2 separate regions of the Homo sapiens genome follow, and region 2 is linked to region 1. The links are contacts of gene promoters, found by promoter capture Hi-C in blood cells and fetal thymus (Javierre and others, 2016). All regions are on one chromosome and are shown on one strand. Each heading gives the region's core, a stretch centred on a gene start or on the middle of the fragment in contact. The rest is flanking DNA. Distances are from core to core; before and after follow the strand shown.

Region 1 (3,787 bases), core at 648-3,147:
TCTGACCTTTGTACAGTCTTTCGCTGTTTGCAAAGTGTTTCCACGTGCACCATTTCCTTTCATTCTTTACTACCAGACCACCATGTGACATGCCTTGATTGGTGAAGTCACCTGCTGAAGGTCACACAGCCAACACTGGAATTAAAGTGATATGGCTCCAAAGGCATCGGACAGTGCTCCGGTTATAGGGAACTCATCAGCATCTCCAAGCACCCACCTTGGCAATTTGGCGACCACCTGCCACCCTACCCTCAACATCATCTTTTTGGACTCATAAGTGCCTTCCCCAGCACAAGCTCAACCCTGTGATTCTTCTACCACTGATCCCACTCCCCCAAGAGATCCACAAAGAACTGAAGATTTCCCCTACACTGTAAGACTTCTCTAGGAGGAGCTGCAAATTGCTTCTCTGTAAAGTAAGGCACTAGGTGATGCTGAGTGAGACCTTCACCCAAAGCTTCCCAAAGGACTGGTGAGAGCAAACACAATCTCAGCGCAGATGGAGGGGTTTTAACATAGGAGCTAAGCAGAGAGGACAGACAGAGCCCTTGGAAAGGAATTTAAGCCTGGGGGTGGGAGTCCCGGTGGCCCCAGCAGATTCCCAGTGGCTGCAGAATCATCTTTCAAGCATACCCCAATCGATCCAATCCTCTGGACCCAAAGGCTCCCCAGCATCAAAGAAGAGAGGCAACTCCCAGATACCCTGGAGTGAACCCATCAACCCAGGGAGAAGGCAGGACCCCGTGACTACAGATAGATGGTGCGCCATACCACTCCCTCACTCGCTGACCCGGGTTACCTCTTGGTCCTGCTTGCTTCTCAGGACATATTCTGGGACACCGATCACCACTGAAAATCATCCACCCCTCCCTTCATTCCCAAAGCTAGATGAAAAGCTAGATGAATGGTTCTCTCTACCTTAGCCCAGGACAACGGTAGTGCCTGGAAGGTCTCTATCTGGGTTACCATCAGGGCCCTTGTGGTAGAAGCTTCTCCTGGCATCTCTTGTTTATGCCCATTATAAAGGACACCAACCTTCTCCCAGCCTTCTGCCCTCCTCAGTCCAGTGTACCCAACAGGCATTAAAACTGGACCCCCATGACAGAGGCAGTGTCCCCTTCATCGCCCGTGAGGAAGGATGGGCATTTACCCTTCCCATTCATCAGGATGGGAGGGCCACGGACTCCCCCCGCGGCAGTGCCGGGTAGCCCCCCGCACCACACCGTGCCAAGGCCCTTTCTCACAGTCATGCCAGGAACTCTAGCCATGCTGAGAACACCAATTCTTCAAGCCCCCAGTGCTATCACCCCAGATCATGTCAAGCCCAAGGCCAGAACCATCCCAACACCCAAGCAATGGCAGCACTTCCTCACACCCATGCTAGCGGCACCACCATGCCGGCACGAGCTGGCCACCTATCCCATAACCAGTCCGAAGGCCGTGCCCATCACCTACCTGTGCAGACAGCTGCACCACCTCACACCTGCGTGGCCACCACCGCACCAAGGTGGAGGCGAGTCTTCTGAGACCCGTTCCAGGAAAACCACGCCGCCTGTGCCGGACCCACGTTGCCCACGCCCGTGCCACGCGTGTCACCATCCCCACGCTGGTGCCAGGGGCTCCACAGACCTCACACCTGCCACGGGCGCGCGTGGCAGCTGCAACTCCGCCCGCCGACCCGTCGGGCCGGCCACCGCGCGCCCTGGACACTGCCCAGCCCGCCGCGCCGCTCGCACCGCGCCCGCGCCCAGGACCGGCCCGCCGCGCCGGAGGCCCCCCTTACCTCCCGCCCGCCGCAGGGCTCGGCCCGCCGCCGCGACCGCCACCTCCATCCTGGGCTCCCCAAGGCCCCGATTCACTAACGCCGCTTCCGCAGGGCGCCGGCGCCGGCGCGAAGGCCGCCTCCGCCCCCCGGGGGACGCTGCGTCCTTTACGTAAACCCCTCTCCGCCGCCAGCGGTGACCATGGCGACGGTCGTGGGGAGGCAGCGCCCCCTGGCGCCAGGGAGGGGAGCGGCGTCGAGGCCAGGGAGAGCCGAGTCTTCCGCGGGCGCCGGCCCTGCGCGTGGGGGCGGTGGGCGCCTGGCTCAGGCTCGGCTGGGGTCCCGTGGGCGGCCGGGAGGGGCTGGACTGGCCGCGATGCGTGCGGGGAAGGGAGCCGCCTGGGTGCCTGCCCCTCCTTTAGGTCCCTCGTGACCAGTTTTAGCGTGGGAGAGGGAAAAAAGGAAGTAGGATCACTGGAGAACTGGTTCATTTGTGGGGAGGAGAGAGACGGGTCCCACCTCCTCGGGGTGACTGAACTCTGCTTGAGAAGTCAGAGCATGGCTAGAGTTCCTGGCGTGACTGTGAGAAAGGGCCTTGGCACGGTGTGGTGCAGGGGTCTACCCGGCACTGCCGTGGGGGGAGTCCGTGGCCCTCCCATCCTGATGAATGGGAAGGGTAAATGCCCATCCTTCCCCACGGGCGACAGAGCCCGTGGGTACCCTGGGTACCCCCTCCTCCCTACCACCCCCCCACCCCCCACCCCTACCCCCGTTCCCAGTGCCCAGCATCGTGCCTGGTCTCCAAAGGGGTTTACTTGGTCAATTTTGAATTTCTGGTAAATGAAGAAAACCGCCCCTCCTGTTCCCCTTCACGCCCTTTCATTCACCGTAAGTCGCTTACACCTCCCTGGGAGCACTGTGCTGAACTGGGGGAGTGGAGCACAGAGAGGAGCAGAAGGCGGGCCCTGACTTCAAGGAGCTCATTCTGCTGGGGAGGAGACGCAGATGGAGGGGGTTTTAACACAGAAGCTAAGCCGAGAGGACAGACAGAGCCCTTGGAAAGGAATTTAAGCCTGGGGATGGGAGTCCAGTCTGCAGGTCGGGATGACTCAGCTGGGTCCCAAAGATCCAGTAAAGATTCATCAGAGACAAAAAGGGGAAGAACGTTTTCTTTCAGGCAAGAGAAGTGCCTCTAAAATGTTTCCTAGGCCCTGTTGCCACCCCCAAAATCACAGTGATCGCGCAGTTCAGTAGAAGTGGGAGCCATAGGTGAACAAGGAGGTGTGGGTAGTGGGGTGCCCGGCTTGAGCAGAAGCCTCGGTCTGAAAATTACGTGGACATTTGGGTTGGAAATGAGACTGTGAGGCCAGGACTGCCTTTTATTGAAGCAGATGGAGCCACTTCTGGAAGGAGTTCTGTGTTACCTGTGATTATTTAGAAAGCAAACTCACGTAGGTAACAAGGAAAATGAGGAGTGGGCGCATATACCCAGTGGGGCACCTCAGGGGATTCAAGGAGGAGTTGAATTCCTCAAGGCTCAGGAAGGGCAGAGATCAGGGGAGGCTTTAAGGGACAACTGTAGCAGTATCAGTTTAGGGATCTTCTTTCTAGATCATTGCCATTAATCAGAATCAAAACTGCCAGATTGGATGTCTCTTGGTTCAAAGTTCCCGATTCCCAGAAAAAAAGAATCTTATTAGTCCAGATCAGGCCACGGTCAATCAGCTATGGCCAGGGCAGAAAGTGCTTTGTGATACAAACATGTCAGTCCACTTTTCCCCGTTGAGAGACACTCCCAGAGGAGGAGAATCATGACCTGAACAGCCAGTCCAAAGACTGTCGGCCAGGGGCGGTGGCTCATGCCTGTAATCCCAGCACTTTGGGAGGCAGAGGCAGGTGGATCACCTGAGGTCAGGAGTTCGAGACCAGTCTGGCCAACATGGTGAAACCCTATCTCTACCAAAGTACAAAAATTAGCCTGGCATGATGGCAGGTGCCTGTAATCCCAGCTACTCGGGAGGCTGA
Region 2 (3,787 bases), core at 872-3,371, 430 kb before region 1:
ACTTAGAGGACCAGTGTCCCCATCTGCAGAATGAGGGCATTAAAACATGTTAAAACATAAAAATGAAGGTGGCTTCTTAAGGTCCCTCCACCGCCAAAGATGAATTCTTTCAGCAACAGGGCAGTCAAGCTTTAATCTGAATTTATAAATGAGCACCATACTGTAAATCCACTAGGGGGCAGTAACTGTTCGCATTTGGATCCACTGATCCGCAGGCCTTGAACTACCATGACACCTTTATTAGGAAAGCAAGAGGCAGGTGGGTGGGATAAGGAATCTGGTTTTCCCCTCCATACCAAGCTACAATAAAGCCTTATGAATCGTGGCCATTTGGGGCAATAAAAAAATGAGTATTTTGTTGTTTTCTGCATCAGCTTGAATTTCCCTGGATTTTACCCTTTACCCATGAGGATGGATCTCTTTTTCTTTTTCTTTTTTCTTTCAGACAGTTTCACTCTGTCACCCAGGCTGGAGTGCAGTGGTGCAATCTCACCTCACTGCAACTGTCGCCTCCCAGGTTCAAGCGATTCTCCTGCCTCAGCCTCCCAAGTAGCTGGAATTACTGGCATGTGCCACCACGCCCGACTACTTTTTGTATTTTTAGTAGAGACGAGGTTTCACCATGTTGGCCAGGCTGTTCTGGAACTCCTGACCTCAAGCGATCCGCCTGCCTCAGCCTCCCAAAGTGCTGGGATTACAGGTGTGAGCCACCGTGCCCGGCCTCATCTCTTTTTCTTAATATGTTACTTGTTAAGTTTCAGAATTTCAGACCTGAAGGGACCCTTTGCAGTTGTGGTGAGTAGCTAGCTCAAGGCAATGGCAAGTAAATGGCAGGACCAGGAATACAAACCATCAAGTCTATTTTCTCAGCTGTATGATGAGACGTGATCTCTGAAGTTCCTTTAGGTCTAAGAGTCTGGCTCTCTGGTCTTCATTATCCAGACTGATTTCTGCTTCCCTGTGGTGGATCTAAGCATTAAATTGGGCTGGTAGGTTGACTTTTCTGAATATGGAGAGCTGGATTATCTAAAACTTTCTCATCAGAATGGAATTTAATTAAATCTTATTAAATCCATTGTATCACATTAAATCTCAAGTTGCATTCATTAAAATGGTAGTTCTCTGGACTTTTGGATTTCACAGAGTAGCAAAATTTGCAAATACGTTTAAGCATTGAGTTAATTTTATTAAGTAAATATGTATGGGTTTTTTTTTAACACCTATCTCTTATTATCCTACTATTATAAAAGACATTTAAACTCAAAAAGAAGAGGGCATGCAATCTCAGAATACGTCAAAGTGACACAAATAAATTCCTTTATGAGGCCAGGCACGGTGGTTCACACCTGTAATCCCAGCACTTTGGGAGGCCGAGGCGGGCGGATCACCTGACGTCAGGAATTAGAGACCAGCCTGGCCAACATGGTGAAACCCTATCAATACTAAAAATACAAAAATTAGCTAGGCATGGTGGTGGGCACCCATAATCCCAGCTACTCAGGAGGCTGAGGCAGGAGAATCACTTGAACCCAGGAGGTAGAGTTTGCAGTGAGCCAAGATTGCACCACTGCACTCCAGCCTGGGCGACAAGAGTGAAACTCCATCTCAAAAAAAAAAAAATTCCTTTATGAAAAACTCATTGCATTGTTCTTATTTTTCTCGTATTGTACAAATCAGTAAAATCCTTGTCAGCCACTGGATCCAGCCTACAGATCAGCCTTGAGAACGTCTGCTTAAAGCAACTGACAATGTTATAAAAGTTCCTCCACAAAAGAGCTCTGCTGCCTGTGAATGCCTCCTTGAAGAGACAATGAAGGCAGAACACATATCCAAGCTGGGCAAAAGAAAACAGTGGGGGTCAAAAAGTATGTCTTTAAAGCTGCACTTCCAAAGAACTTCCTGAGAGATTTGTAATTTCTATTTCTGTATGATAAAACACTATTGGTGAGGCATGGTTGTTCATGCCTGTAATCCCAGCATTTTGAGAGGCCAAGGTGGGCGGATCACCTGAGGTCAGGAGTTCAAAACAAGTCTGGCCAACATGGTGAAACCCCGTCTCTACTAAAAATTAAAAAAAAAATTAAAAAAAAAATTAGCCAGGCATGGTGGTGCATGCCTGTATTCCTAGCTACATGGGAGGCTGAGGCAGGAGAATCGCTTGAACCCGGGACGGGGAGGTTGCAGTGAGCCGAGATCATGCCACTGCATTCCAGCCTGGGTTATGGAGCAAGACTCCCGTCTCATAGGAAAAAAAAACAAACAAAAAAACCCTACATTCTTAAGGCCTAAAATGTACTAAAAATAAAACAGGAAAACAAAAATGGGGGTAGGGTTCCTTCTGTGAATGCAAACATGCTTGACCAATGAGATGTAGTTGAAAACCTAGACCACTGGTACAGACTGAATTGTGTGGACTCTCCATACTCACATACAGCAGATGCAGAGAAGGGCACAGAGGGAGGGAGTGATAAATCTGAAGATAAATGGAGAATTCAGAATTCTCGCTTTGATGTACTCAGTGGCTTTTTGGCAAACCGTCTAATCCCAGTCTGCAGTTTGAAAGAACACGCTATAATTGTTAGCAGCACCCACTCAGATAATGCTGGAACTTGTTTGTAAATAAAGTTCCAGCTTTGACAAACCACATGCTCCTCACAGCCATTTATGCACTTTGCTTCATCTGTCTCTTATACTGTCTGAGAAAAAAATAGAGATGGGGGGTCTCACTATGTTGCTTAGGCTGGACCCGAACTCCTGGACTCCAGCCCATCCACCTGTCACAGGGTGAACCCCCACATTGGAGTTCAGCCCAGGAGGCGACGTGAGTTCTTGGCTTTGCACAGGAAGGAATTCAAGAGTTAACAGAGTAAAGTGAAAGCAAGTTTATTTTAAAAGTAAAGGAGTAAGAGTGGCTATGCCATCGGAAGAGCAGCCGTGAGAGTTGCAGGTTGCTATTTTTATGTTTGTTTCTTGCTCACATGCTAAACAAGGGTGGCTTATTCATGAATTTTCCAGGAAAAGGTCAGAGAATTCCCAGAAATGAGAGTTCCTCCCCTTTTTAGACCATATAGGGTAACTTCCGGATGTTGCCATGGCGTATGTAAGCTGTCGTGTTTCTGGTGGGAGTTTCCTTCACCATGGACAAATCATGGATTATGATTAGTGTATAATGAGCGGTGAGAGGACCAAGGGTCGCTTTCATCACCATCTTGGTTTTGGGGGGTTTTGGCTGGCTCCTTTACCACATCCTGTTTTATCAGGGGGGTCCTTGTGACCTATGTCTTGGGAAACAAGTCCTGCCAAACTCCTATCACACCCCCACCTCAGCATCCCAATAGCACAGAGTGCCCTTGTCTGCATTTGCCACATGTGAGTAGTCACCTGTATTAGTTCATTCCCACACTGCTATGAAGAAATACCTGAGACTGGGTAACTTATATAAAGGAAAGAGGTGTTTTGTTGTTGTTGTTGCTGGTGGTTTTTGTTTGTTTGTTTTTGAGATGGAGTCTCCCTCTCTTACCCAGGCTGGAGTGCAGTGGTACGATCTCGGCTCACTGCAACCTCTGCCTCCCAGGTTCAAGCAATTCTCCTGCCTCAGCCTCCCAGGTAGCCTGGATTACAGGCACCTGCCACCATGCCTGGCTAATTTTTTTGTATTTTTAGTAGAGACAGAGTTTCGCCATGTTGGCCAGGCTGGTTTTGAACTCCTGACCTCAAGTGATCCATCTGCCTCGGCCCCCATGCCTGGCCTAAAGGAAAGAGGTTTAATCGACTCACAGTTCCACAG

What was found. Contacts are between HindIII fragments. The CHiCAGO score rates a contact against its expected background, and 5 or more counts as called.
Region 2: a contact is called between a fragment that was not itself captured here and the fragment with the promoter of DAGLA in region 1, in 5 of 17 cell types (activated CD4 T cells, non-activated CD4 T cells, naive CD8 T cells and 2 more). The highest score is 6.8, in activated CD4 T cells.

Annotation. Positions count from the first base shown.
Region 1 is chr11:61,678,501-61,682,287 of GRCh38, reverse strand. It overlaps DAGLA (diacylglycerol lipase alpha), which reads right to left and starts at 1,897. Exons shown (of 20, transcript NM_006133.3): 1 at 1,784-1,897. The HindIII fragment of the contact is 3,213 bases long and covers 992-3,787 here.
Region 2 is chr11:62,104,576-62,108,362 of GRCh38, reverse strand. No RefSeq gene overlaps it. Among named protein-coding and RNA genes, the nearest start is that of INCENP, 18 kb to the left of the region's middle. The HindIII fragment of the contact is 3,979 bases long and covers 132-3,787 here.